Linked DNA regions of Homo sapiens: region 2 is linked to region 1. Evidence: promoter capture Hi-C in human tissues and cell types (Jung and others, 2019). All regions are on one chromosome and are shown on one strand. The core of a region is centred on a gene start or on the middle of the fragment in contact, and the rest is flanking DNA. Distances in the headings are between cores, read along the strand shown.

Evidence for each region. The method cuts DNA at HindIII sites, captures the fragments that hold promoters and counts their contacts. A contact is called where the count stands out against the background at its distance.
Region 2: a fragment that was not itself captured here is called in contact with the fragment with the promoter of HTR3D in region 1 in 2 of the 25 tissues and cell types used here (IMR-90 fibroblasts and aorta).

What each region holds. Positions count from the first base shown.
Region 1 is chr3:184,028,508-184,035,242 of GRCh38, reverse strand. HTR3D (5-hydroxytryptamine receptor 3D) reads right to left here and starts at 3,501. Exons shown (of 8, transcript NM_001145143.1): 1 at 3,436-3,501; 2 at 21-65. The coding sequence starts at 3,501. The HindIII fragment of the contact is 22,402 bases long and covers 1-6,735 here.
Region 2 is chr3:183,894,297-183,901,031 of GRCh38, reverse strand. It overlaps the pseudogene CYP2AB1P. Among named protein-coding and RNA genes, the nearest start is that of MIR4448, 11 kb to the right of the region's middle. The HindIII fragment of the contact is 5,560 bases long and covers 544-6,103 here.

The sequences.
Region 1 (6,735 bases), core at 2,252-4,751:
GGAAACTGAGTCTGTCATACCATATTTAGCCACAGGAACGATGTCACCAGTTGAAGGTGTGAATCCTGGAATAGCAGCTTTCATCTAGATGATTAACTCCAGGAAGGCAGGTCCCATGCCACCACCCTCTCCTTGTTCACTTCCAAGGCTGGTCCATGTGGCAATAATGATTTTTGATCTAAGCCACTGAAAAATGATGTAGATCAAAACAATTCAAGGTACATGGAAAATGTAAATGAAAAACACAGTATGAAGGTCCATTGGGAATATGTTTTGACAAGTATTCCAAAAAGAACAGATTTTACCTGCAGTAATGTCATTACAGCATTTCTTATCATGCCTTTCTACTCCTCACCCCCGCCGAATGCACCTCTAATTTTTTAAACACTTTTAAAAATCATTTTTTCTTTTTTTTGAGACAGAATCTTGCTCTGTCGCCCAGGCTGGAGTGCAGTGGCGCCATTTCGGCTCACTGCAACCTCTGCCTCCCAGGTTCAGGTGATTCTCCTGCCTCCTGCCTCAGCCTCCCGAGCAGCTGGGATTAGAGGCACACACCACCACGCCCAGCTAACTTTTTGTATTTTTGGTAGAGATGGGGTTTCGCCATGTTGCCCAGGCTAAAAATAATTTTTTCAATATTTTATTGTGATAAAAATATATAACATAAAATGTACTCTCTTAACCATTTTAAGTGTACAGTTCCGTGGCGTTAAACACATTCACACTGTTGTCCAGCCACCACCCTCCATCACCAGAGCTCTTTTCTTCTTGCAAAATGGAAACTCTACACCCGTTAAACAGTAATTCCCTATTTCACCCTCTCTCCAACCCCTGGCAACAGCTATTCTACTTTCTGTCTCTATAAAATTAGACAAATACACTATTTGTCTTTTTGTGACTGACTTATTTCACTTAGCATAATGGCCTCACAGCTTATCCACATTGTGGCATGTGTTAGAATTTTGTTCCATTTGAAGGCTGCATAGTATTCCATTGTAAGTACATACCACATTTAATCTGTCCATTCATCTGTCAATAGACACTTAGACTGCTTCTGAGTTTTAACTATTGTGAGTAATTCTGCTATGAACATAAGTGTACAAATACCCCGTTTTCACTTTTTTCGGGTATTTATCCAGAAGTATAATTATTTGGTTGTATGGTAATTCTATTTTTAATATTTTGAGAAAAAGCCATACTGTTTTTCCACAGTGGCTACACAATTTTACATCCTCACAAGCAGTGCACAAGGGTTCCAATTTCTCCACATTATCACCAACACTTGTTATTTTCTGGTTTTTTAATTTTGTTTTGTTTTGTTTTTTTGAGACAGAGTCTTGCTCTGTCACCCAGGCTAGAGTGCAGTGGCACAATCTTGGCTGTCTGCAACCTCTGCCTCCTGGGTTCAAGCAATTCTCCTGTCTCCTCCTCCCGACTAGCTGGGATTACAGGTGCCCACCAACACGCCCAGCTAATTTTTGTATTTTTAGTAGAGATGGGGTTTCACCAAGTTGGTCAGGCTGGTCTTGAACTCCTGACCTCACGTGATCTACCCGCCTCAGCCTCCCAAAGTGCTGAGATTACAGGCATGAGCCACCTCGCCCAGCTTCTGTTTGTTTTTTAATACTAGCCATCCTAGTGGGTGTGAGATATCTTACTGTAGCTTTGATCTGCATTTTCTTAACTATTAGTAACATTGAACATACACCTTTTCTTGTGCTTATTGGCTGTTTGTATTTCTTCTTTGCAGAAATGTCTATTCAAGTCCTTTGCCCATTTTTGAATTGGGTTGTTTGATTTTTTTGTTGTGAGTAACTAATTTTACAAAATCCAATCAAAGGGCCAGGCACGGTGGCTCATGCCTGTAATCCCAGAACTTTGGGAGACCAAGGCAGGTGGATCACCTGAGGTCAGGAATTTGAGACCAGCCTGGCCAACATGGTGAAACCCTGTCTCTACTAAAAATACAAAAATTAGCTGGGTGGGGCAGCACGTGCCGGAGGCTGAGGCAGGAGAATCGCTTGAAACTGGGAGGCAGAGGTTGCAGTGAGCTGAGATTGCACCACTGCACTCCAGCCTGGGTGACAAGAGCAAGACTCCATCTCAAAAAAAAAAAAAAAAAATCCAGTCAGAGGGTCCACTGCTCACCACTAGACCACTGCAATGTTGGGTGAGGACTTACAACTTCCAGATGGCAGACAAGGTGAAGGAGATGTTGACATGAGTGGCGACACTGTAGTTGGTGACTGGACCAATAGCCTTTCTGTCAAACACTGCTTGAAAGGCTGCAGGGTCCACCCTGTGCTGGCCAAAGCCTGGGCAATTGATAATCAAAGTGTCGCCATTTCCTGTAGTGAGCAGAGACTGAGAGAGGAGGGCCAGGGCTGGGGGGCCTGGAGAGTGTTTCTGCATGGAGAGAAAACAGGGGGCACTGGGAGAAGCATGTGAGCTCCTCCTTCCTGGTCCAGGAAGAGTAGGCTGAGCTGGTAGGCAAATGGTGGAAACTGATGAGGTGAGCTGAGTCAAGGATCCATCCTCAGTGCCATTGTTTTGTCCCCATGCAAAACCTGTCCAGATGTGTATGCAAACTCAACCCCGACCGCCACTTTACAGTGTCCTGCCATGTCCTTAACAATCTCACTGCAACCTCTCCACCTTCTGCCAGTGTCCTTCTCTTGCTTACCTCCAACCTGGAGCCATGTGGGTGATGTCAGTGACAAATTTTGCACTCACAGTTCTCCGCCTCGCTGTATTAATATGGCATAGATGCTAATAAATTAATGATAAGGGGAGTAATCAGATAGGTAGTGTGAGATATATGGGATCTTAAGGAAACAAATCAATTTCAGTTTTTCAATTTGATGAGTATTTACTGTGTCTTTACTATGTGCTGTGATTGTTCTAACATTTAGTAGTCTTCATCACTAGGATTATCTTAAAGAGTTCCCAGGCTGGGCTCAGGGGCTCACGCCTGTAATCCCAACACTTTGGGAGGCCCACGCGGGCAGATCACCTGAGGACAGGCATTCAAGACCAGCCTGGCCAACATGGTGAAACCCCATCTCTACTAAAAATACAAAAATTAGCCAGGCACGGTGGCAGGTGCCTGTAATCCCAGCTACTTGGGAGGCTGAGGCATGAGATCGTTTGAACCTGGGAGGTGAAGGTTGCAATGGGCTGAGATATTGCCACTGCACTCTAGCCTGGGTAACAGAGCGAGACTCCATCTCAAAAAAAAAAAAAAAAAGAAGAGAAAAGAGTTAACTAAATATTAGGATCCTAGGAAGAGGTACAAAGCCATCAGTGTCACGAGCATCATTTTTACCATAACGAACATCCAATCATTGACTATCTCAGAATAAAAAATATTAGCCTGTTTTCTCTGCTTCCCAGGAGTTACATGTCTGCTCAGCTCTTGCTCTTATCTTAAGGTACTTGCAGCAGCAGGTGGAGGATGAAGCCAAGGAGGAATCCTTTCCCATGGAACCAGCCTCTTTCCATCTTCCTCTCTTTGGCACTTCTCTGGGTACTTGATGATGATGTTAACCTTTAAAAAACCTCAGATCACACCTTGAGCCCTACCTTTGAATAATATATATATCAGCTGGCATTAACCGCCTCTCTAACAAGACCCCTTGGTGACAAAAGAATGTCACAGAGGAATAACTCACCCTGTGCTTTAACTGGGCCTGAATCTAGCCTCCAAAAGTAATATGGCAAATCAGTTTGGAGAAGAGGAAGCAAAAATATGTGGTCCCTGGAGCAGTGCTAATGGCTTCCTCATACTTTAAAGTCACTCTGGCGTACAGTGCCTCACCGAGAAGGCATGGATGACTACCACTGCCTCCAGGTGGCACGTGAACTTGTTAGACCCTGCTGTCATCTTTCTTTCTTTTCTTTTCCTTTCTTCTTTCTTTCTTTCTTTTCTCTTTCTTTTTCTTTCTTTCTCTTTCTTTCTCTTTCTCTTTTTCTTTCTTTTTTCTTTCTTTCCTTCTCTCTCTCTCTCTCTCTCTCTCCCTCCCTCCCTCTCTCTCTCTTTCTCCCTCCCTCCCTCCCTTCCTTTTTTTTTTTTGCGACGGAGTCTCCCTCTGTCTCCCAGGCTGGAGTGCAATGGTGCAGTCTTGGCTCACTGCAACCTCCGCCTCCCGGGTTCAATCGATTCTCCTGCCTCAGCCTCCCAAGTAGCTGTGATTACAGGCGCCTGCCACCATGCCTGGCTAAGTTTTTGTATTTTTAGTAGAGACGAGGTTTTACCATGTTGGTTGGCTGGCCTCAAACTCCTGACCTCAGGTGATCTGCCCACCTTGGCTCCCAAAGTGCTGGAATTACAAGCGTGAGCTACCATGCCCGGCCCCCTACTGCCATCTTTCAAAAAAGAAAGCGTGTTGGGGGGAGGGGGGTCCCTATTAATATAAGCAACTTCATACACTGAGGTTTTAAACATGACTTCAGTATAGTTAAGACTTTAAAGTATGAGGAAGCCATTAGCACTGCTCCAGTGATGACATATTTCTGCTTCCTCTTCTCAAAGCTGATTTGCTATGCCTTTTTAGTGTTTCAAAAGCAATCTGGACCCAGGTCTACCCAATGAAGGGAGTGATTAGTGGAGTAGGGGGTGGTGGCAGAGGTAATACTTTTTTAAAATAAAAGCTGACTTATGATTTTTTTTTTTAAATGGAGTTTCTCTCTTGCTGCCCAGGCTGGAGTGCAATGGCGCGATCTTGGCCCACCACAACCTCTGCCTCCCGGGTTCAAGCGATTATCCTGCCTCAGCCTCCCGAGTAGCTGGAATTACAGGCATGCACCACAAAGCCCAGATAATTTTTTTTTCATTTTTTTATTATACTTTAAGTTCTAGGGTACATGTGCACAACGTGCAGGTTTGTTACATATGTATACATGTGCCATGTTGGTGTGCTGCACCCATTAACTCGTCATTTACATTAGGTATATCTCCTATTGCTATCCCTCCCCGCTCCCCCCACCCCATGACAGGCCCCAGTGTGTAATGTTCCCCACCCTGTGTCCAAGTGTTCTCATTGTTCAATTCCCACCTATGAGTGGGAACATGCAGTGTTTGGTTTTCTGTCCTCGCTCGTTTTCTCAGAATGATGGTTTCCAGCTTCATCCATGTCCCTACAAAGGACATGAACTCATCCTTTTTTATGGCTGCATAGTATTCCATGATATATATGTGCCACATTTTCTTAATCCAGTCTATCATTGATGGACATTTGGGTTAGTTCCAAGTCTTTGCTATTGTGAATAATGCTGCAATAAACATACATGTGCATGTGTCTTTATAGCAGCATGATTTATAATCCTTTGGGTATATACCCAGTAATGGGATGGCTGACGCCCAGCTAATTTTTTTGTATTTTTTGTGTTTTGTTTTAGTAGAGATGGGGTTTCTCCATGTTGGTCAGGCTGGTCTCAAACTCCCAAACTTAGGTGATCTGCCTGCCTTGGCCTCCCAAAGTGCTGGGATTACATGCATGAGCCACCACGCCCAGCTGCTGACTTATGATTTTAAAGAAAAGGTCATGAGCTATTAGCCTGAAAGTTTATGTTATTTTTGGCCCTGCTAGTGTTTTTTTTTTCTTTTTTTAAAGTTAGTTGTGTAACACTTAAACATTGAGATTTCACATAAAAACTGTTTCTGGCTTCATTTGAAAAATAAGATCTAGCAACATGAGGCTCACGTTTCTGCTTGACAACAATCTGCCAAAGCTCAGAAGTAGTGAAACCCTTTGGATGGTTCATACTCACTCTAGATCACCACAGTCTCCATCACCCCTCCTGTCTTATTCCTGAGCAGCTCTCCTCATTTATGTTACCTGGTTGGCCTCTGTAGGTGTTTGACTTTGGCTTTCAATGTTAAGAATTTCTTTTGTGATTCTTTTTTTAACTTTTTTTTTTTTTTGAGATGGAGCCTTGCTCTGTCGCCCAGGGTGGAGTGCAGTGGCGAGATCTCTGCTCACTGCAAGCTCCGCCTCCCGGGTTCACGCCATTCTCCTGCCTCAGCCTCCCAAGTAGCTGGGACTACAGGCGCCCACCACCACGCATGGCTAATTTTTAGTATTTTTAGTAGAGATGGGGTTTCACCATGTTAGCCAGGATGGTCTCGATCTCCTGACCTCATGATCCACCCGCCTTGGCCTCCCAAAGTGTTGGGATTACAGGCATGAGCCACCGCGCCCAGCCTCTTTTTTTGACTTTTAAGTTCAGGGGTACATGTGCAGATTTGTTATATAGGTAAACTTGTGTCGTGGGGGTTTGTTGTACAGATGATTTCATCACCCAGGTATTAAGCCTAGTACCCATTAGTTATTTTTCCTGATCCTCTCCCTCCTCCCACCCTCCACCCTCTGATAGGCCTCAGTGTGTGTTGTTCCCCTCTATGTGTCCATGTGTTCTCATCATTTAGTTGGTACTTATAAGTGAGAACATGCAGTACTTGGTTTTCTGTTCCTGTGTTAGTTTGCTAAGGATAATGGCCCCCAGCTCCATCCATGGTCCTGCAAAGGACATGAACTCATTCCTTTTTATGGCTGCATAGTATTCCATGGTGTGTGTACCACATTTTCTTTATCCAGTCTATCATTGATGGGCATTTAGGTCAATTTCATGTCTTTGCTATTGTGAATAGTGCTGTGGTGAACACATGCATGCATGTGTCTTTATAATAGTGATTCTTAAATAGCCTTGGGAAGTAATTTCAAAATACCATTCCAT
Region 2 (6,735 bases), core at 2,074-4,573, 130 kb after region 1:
CATGTTGGCCAGGCTGGTCTTGAACTCCTGACCTCGAGTGATTGGCCTGCCTCAGCCTACCAAGGTGCTGGGATTACGGGTGTGAGCCACCGCACCCGGCCGCTTTTGCCATATTCTATTTGTTGGGTTTGTTGTTGTTGTTGTTGTTGGTTTGAGACAGTGTCTCCCTCTGTTGCCTGGGTTGGAGTGAAGGGACACAATAATAGCTCACTGCAGCCTCAACCTCCCAGGCTTGGGTGATCCTCCCACCTCAGCTGCCTGAGTAGCTGGAACTACAGGCACCACATTGTGCCACCACAATGGGCTAATTTTTAAATTTTTGGTAGAGATGGGGTTTCACCATGTTGCCTAGGTTGGTCTCAAATTCCTGGGCTCAAGTGATCCTCCCACCTTGGCCTTCCAGAGTGCTGGGATTCCATGCATGAGCCACTGCGTCTGGCCCATTTTCTATTTGTTAGAAGTGAGTTACTAAATCCATCCTATCCTCAAGGGGAGGGGATTACACAAAGGTGTGTATCCTGGGAGTCAAGGCTAACTGGGGTAACTATCGGGGAATCTGTCCCGATAGTCACGTAGGTTCTTTTCTGTTTTTCCTAAGCGTCGGCCAGCTTGAGAAATAAAGGGACGAGTACAAAAGAGAGAAATTTTAAAGCTGGGCGTCTGGGGGAGACATCACGTGTCGGTGGGTTCCGTGATGCCCCACAAGCCGCAAAAACCAGCAAGTTTTTATTAGGGATTTTCAAAAGGGGAGGGAATGTGCAAATAGGTGTGGGTCACAGACATCAAGTACTTTACAAGGTAATGGAATATCACAAGGCAAGTGGAGGCAGGGCAAGATCACAGGACCACAGGACTGGGGCAAAATTAAAATTGCTAATGAAGTTTCGGGCACCATGGTCATTGATAACATCTTATCAGGAGACAGGGTTTTGAGAGCAACTGGTCTGACCAAAAATTTATTAGGCGGGAATTTCCTCTTCCTAATAAGCCTGGGAGTGCTATGGGAGACTGGGGTCTATTTCACCCCTATAGCCTCGACCATAAGAGACAGGCACACCTAGGGGGGCCGTTTATAGGCCTATACCCCCAGGCGCGTATTCTCTTTCCCAGGGATCTTCCTTGCTGAGAAAAAGAATTCAGTGATATTTCTCCCATTTGCTTTTGAAAGAAGAGAAATATGGCTCTGTTCCACCCGGCTCATCGGTGGTCAGAGTTTAAGGTTATCTCTCGTATTCCCTGAACAATTGCTGTTATCCTGTTCTTTTTTCAAGGTGCCCAGATTTCATATCATTTAAACAGACATGCTCTACAATTTGTGCAGTTAATGCAATTATCACAAGGTTCTGAGGCAACATACATCCTCCTCAGCTGACAGGATTAAGAGATTAAAGTAAAGACAGGCATAGGAAATCACAAGGGTATTGACTGGGGAAGTGATAAGTGTCCATGAAATCTTTACAATTTATGTTTAGAGATTGCAGTAAAGACAGGCATAAGAAATTATAAAAGTATTAATTTGGGGAACTAATAAATGTCCGTGAAATCTTCACAATCCAGGTTCTTCTGCCATGGCTTCAGCCAGTCCCTCCGTTCGGGGTCCCTGACTTCCCGCAACAGGTAACATACCAACATGTGTAGGTGGTGAGGTTGCCATTTTAATGAAAATGAAACAGAGCGACTCATCTTGGTGCCCTGGTGCAGGGTGATGCCTCTGTACATAGAGGTGGTGGCGGGAGCCCTGAGACTTTCCTCGGAAAGGAGCTTTGGCTCTGCCCCGAGTACTGCCCTGGAGTACAGTGGTGTGATCTCAGCTCACTGCAGCCTCCACCTCCGGGGCTCAAGCAATTCTCCCACCTCATCCTCCCAAGTAGCTGGTATTACAGGCACGTGCCACCACGTCCAGCTAATTTTTATTATTTTTATTTTTTTTTTAATTTGTAGTAAAGACGGGGTTTCACCAGGTTGGCCAGGCTGGTCTTGAACTCCTGCCTCTGCCTCTCAAAGTGCTGGGATTACAGGCATAAGCCGCCATGCCCAGCCCCATTATTAACTTATTATTAATTTGCCCAGACTTGAGGTTCCTTCCTCCACAGATTTTTTTCTTCACAGAAGCCCTATCCTTCGGACGCTTTGTTGCTGTTTCTTTTCCATAGATAGAGAAACTTCAGCATAGGCAGCTTAAGAAACTGCCCAAACACAGCTAGTAAGTGACTTAGCTGAGTTTCAAATGCATGTCCCTCTGACTCTAAAGTGTTTTCTTTTCCTACCATATGCCCTGCTGTTTGTATTTATACGAAAATGCCACTCTAGGTAAGTGAACCAATGTGTTCAATGGAGATGTTTTACACTGTCATTCTGTCCTTGGCAGAAATTGGCCAGCAAGTTTACAGGTTTGTCAAGAGTCTCTGGGAAAGTGGATAGGACCAGGGCATCAGGTCATCTTGCTGCTGGCGTGGCAGAAGGACCCAGGCCCAGGTTGTCTAGAAGCTGTGCCAACTTAAGTTAAAAAGAGGGGGCCAGGGTACTGCTCTGTGTTATGCCGTTTGGGATTAGAAATTTCCTTATTAAGAGCTCATTCCTGCCAATTTGATTCTAGGACTTGTTCTGTGATAAAGGCTCCAGGGGCCCATTAACGAGCTGAAATCAATATTGAGCTTTTACAACTTGGACGAGAGATGTCTGCTGAAAGTGGAATCAAAGCTTGACAGTAGATCATTAAATGTTACAGATATTCCTAAACTGTTCCTAACCATTTCATCAGCTGAGTGATCGTGACAACAGCAATAGTCCCTGATACGACGGTTGCACTTCCAGCCTGTCTCTCTTCTCAGACATTCTATTTGATTGCGAATTCCAAATTGCCATTTACTGGGCAGAAGCTGGCACAGCGACCCCAGGAGGTACCCAGCAGGTAGATGGTTCTACAGTCTGGGGAAGTGGAGGGCGGTTGTTGCGGGGGGCGGGGCGCTGTCCTTTTTGCATACTGGATAGGCTGTGCTCTGAACCTGTTCCATGAGCTGAGAACCTCCTTTGCAAGGAGGCCAGAACATCACCCAAAAAAGGACACAAATAATTCTGGAGGGAAAAGAGCATCTTGCTAGGAGCCTCCTCCTCTGAAGGTGATTAGTAAGAACCGTTGCAATGCAGAGGTTACTTAATCCCAGGTAGAGAAAATGGGGGAATTCCCATGACTAGAACTGGGAAATCTATAGCTCACTCAGGCAGCAGCAAGAACACAGGCCTCCCCAACACCTCTGCTTGAAGCTACAGAGTGAGCAAGTCTGGGTGCCCTATTGGTACACATGGCTAGGATGAGGCACCTTGCCTAAGCGTGCCGTACTGCAACAACGGCAAAAAAGAACAATTTCCCCTGAAAACAATTTCTGCATTCTGTTTTTTTTTTTGTTGTTGTTGTTTTGTTTTTTTAGATGGAATCTTGCTCTGTCGCCCAGGCTGGAATGCAGAGGCGTGATCTTGGCTCACTACAACCTTTGCCTGCCTCAGCCTCCCGAGTAGCTGAGACTATAGGCACTTGCCACCACGCCCGACTAATTTTTGTATTTTTAGTAGAGATGGGGTTTCACCGTGTTGGCCAGGCTGGTCTCAAACTCCTGACCTCAAGCGATCCGCCCTGATTGGCCTCCCAAAGTGCTGGGATTACAGGTGTGAGCCACTGCGACCAGCCAGCATCTGCTGCTCCATTTCTGCATTCTTTATTGGTTTCTGTTTAGAATGCAGGCTTCAAACTCGCTAAGCTTTTTTTTTTTTTTTTAATTTCAAGCTTTTTCTTTGGTCAGAATCAAGAATTCTGTAGTCAGCCCTCTGGTCTCTACAGGGATAGCTGGTTTAATTTTGTGGTATTTGGTAAATGAGCCCTGGGGTATGAGGCCTTCCCCGGAATCCCAGAGCTGAGTGTTCTAGGGCTGGGGACCATAACCGACCCCATCCTGGCTCCACTTTGGCCTCCTTATGCTGTTTCCGGTCAGCCCAGGGCCCACATGGTAAGGAGCAGATGTTACCCTGCTCCCATCTGCTTGGTCTGATTCTCTTTCTAATCACTCACTTCTCCTTTGAGATAGAGTGAGGGCTGAGGTGAGGGTGAGAGGGAAGATTTGGGTTTGGGTTTGGGGGAAGGTGAGGGTTGGGGTTAGGTTGAAGGTTAGAGTTGGGCTTATGGTTCATGTTTTCCTCTCCCCAACCCTAAAGAGTGAAGCTTGCTGTCTCCTCTCTGTCTTTCCATCACTCAGTTCCTCTTTCTCTGCTTGTTTGCCATTCCATTTCTCCTCGTTCTGTCTCTTCCTCTTAACACCCACGTGTGCACACATCCCCTGCCCCAGTGTGTATTGTCCTGGGCTGTCCTTGGCCCCTTCCAGACATGCCCCCAGCTGTTGGCCTTCTCTGTAGGAGGCAATGGCTTCATGTCCCTAGACGTGGCTGGGAGTCTTCAGGACAAAGCTGGGCAGTCCTTAGCCAGGAGGGTGTCCTGCTCAGCTCCTTCACTGATGTGAGCCTGGAGGAAGGGCAGCCTGAGGGCCGGCTGCTGAGTCTCCTCAAGGCCCCTGGACTACTCCCACCAACACACTGGGTATTCTCCAAGCTCACTGTGGCTCAGTGTCAGGGCTGGGTACTGGGTACCATCTGAGGCTCCCTGAGCCACACCAGCATCTCTCTGCAGGGCACCATCATCTTACCCAACCTGGCCTCTGTGCTCTATGACCCTGAGTGCTGGGAGACCCCTCGACAGTTCAACCCTGGCCACTTCTCGGACAAGGATGGAAACTTTGTGGCCAATGAGGCCTTCCTGCCATTCTCTGCAGGTACTAGGCACAGAGCTGGATCCTGGGTGGTGGGTGGGGCTGTGGTGGGACAGACACAGGGACAGCTGCCACCTCTGACTTTTCTCTCTGTTTCCAGGGCATCGTGTCTACCCAGCAGACCAGCTGGCTCAAATGGAGCTCTTCCTGATGTTTGCCACCCTCCTCAGGACCTTTCGGTTCCAACTGCCAGAAGGGAGCCCGGGGCTCAAGCTGGAGTACATCTTTGGCGGCACTTGGCAACCCCAGCCCCAGGAGATCTGCGCAGTGCCCCGCCTGAGCAGCCCCAGCCCTGGTCCTAGGGAGGATGGCCTGTAGCCACTGGGGGTCTGGAGGCCTGTCCCCCATGAAGTCCTTCCTCAGTCTCTTTTGGTTCCTGCAAAGTTAGAAAAGAGGAGGACCAGGGGTTCATGCAGCTCAGCTGCTCATGGTTGCCCCTAACACAAGCTCTGTGGGGTGACACTGGAGAATAGACTTAGCAAGGATTCTACAGAGGTAGCTCAGTTTGGGTAGTTCAATTCTTAAATTAGGTTAGTTATGCTTTGGCAGGCGAAGATTTTATAAGATTGGTTAAGTTTGGCATTAAATCAGTCCACAAAGTTAATATTGGGGAATCAAGCCTCACAAGGCAGCAGCTAACTAGGTTCAGAGGAAAAGGCAAACTTTCGAGCAAAACTATGAATATAATAATGCATGCAAATGCGAATACTCTAGATGCCGGGGACTGGTAAACCAAAAAAAAAAAAAAAAAAAAAAAAAGTGAAGCGGGGGCAGCTTATTTTCTGCCTTCTCCTGCCCTCTCCTGACCAGAAGGAAGAACTGCAGTTCTCTGCAGACCTGGGGCAGAGAAAGATCTCACCATCTCAATACAGCAAAGCCAGCAGACCATATAACTGTTTCCAGCAAATTCTTCACCAAAGACCCACTTTAGTTTCCACACAAGGGTCCCTAAATTTTGAATCCTTGCATCTCCAGACAAGCCTTGTTTATTAAAAAAGAATGACTTGTGGCTGGGCATGGTGGCTCACACCTGTAATCCCAGCACTTTGGGAGACCGAGGCAGGTGGATCACTTGAGGTCAGAAGTTCAAGACCAACCTGGCAAACATGGTGAAACCCCATCTCTACTAAAAATACAAAAATTACCCGGGCATGGTGGCAGGCACCTGTAATCCCAGCTACTCGGGAGGCTGAGGCAGGAGAATCGCTTGAACCCAGAAGGCAGAGGTTGCAGTGAGCCAAGATCGCACCACTGCTCTCCAGCCTGGGATCCAAGAGTGAAACTGTCTCAAAAACAAACAAACAAACAAACAAACAAACAAAAGCAAAAACAAAGAATGACTTGTGAGTTCCTGGAGGCAGAGGTTGCAGTGGGCGGAGATTATACCACTACAGTCCAACCTGGGTGACAGAGCGAGACTCTGTCTCAGAAAAAAAAAGACTGACTTGCATCAAGGAAATGCAAACTAAAATCAAATGAAATACCATTACATACCGATTAGAACTGCTAAAAAGAAAACCCTGACAATCCCAAGTACTGGAAAAGATGCGAAGCAAATGGAATTCTCATACCCTGCAGGTGGAAATGTAAAAAGGTACGACTACATTGGAAAACAGTTTGGCAATTTCTTGTAAAATTAAACATTACACCACACAACCCAGCAGTCCCAATCTTAGGTATTACCCAAAAGAAATGAAAATATATGTTCACACAAATGCATATCTATGAATTATATGATTCCATTTCTGTGATATTCTTAAAAAGGCAAACCTATAGGGACAGAAAATATTCCATAGATAAGTGGCTGCCAGGATTCGGGAGCAGGGTTATAGGTTGACTGTAAAAAGACATGAGGAAACTTTCTGGGGTAATAGAAATGTTCTGTATCTTGATTGTGGTGATGGTTACACAACTGTATGTG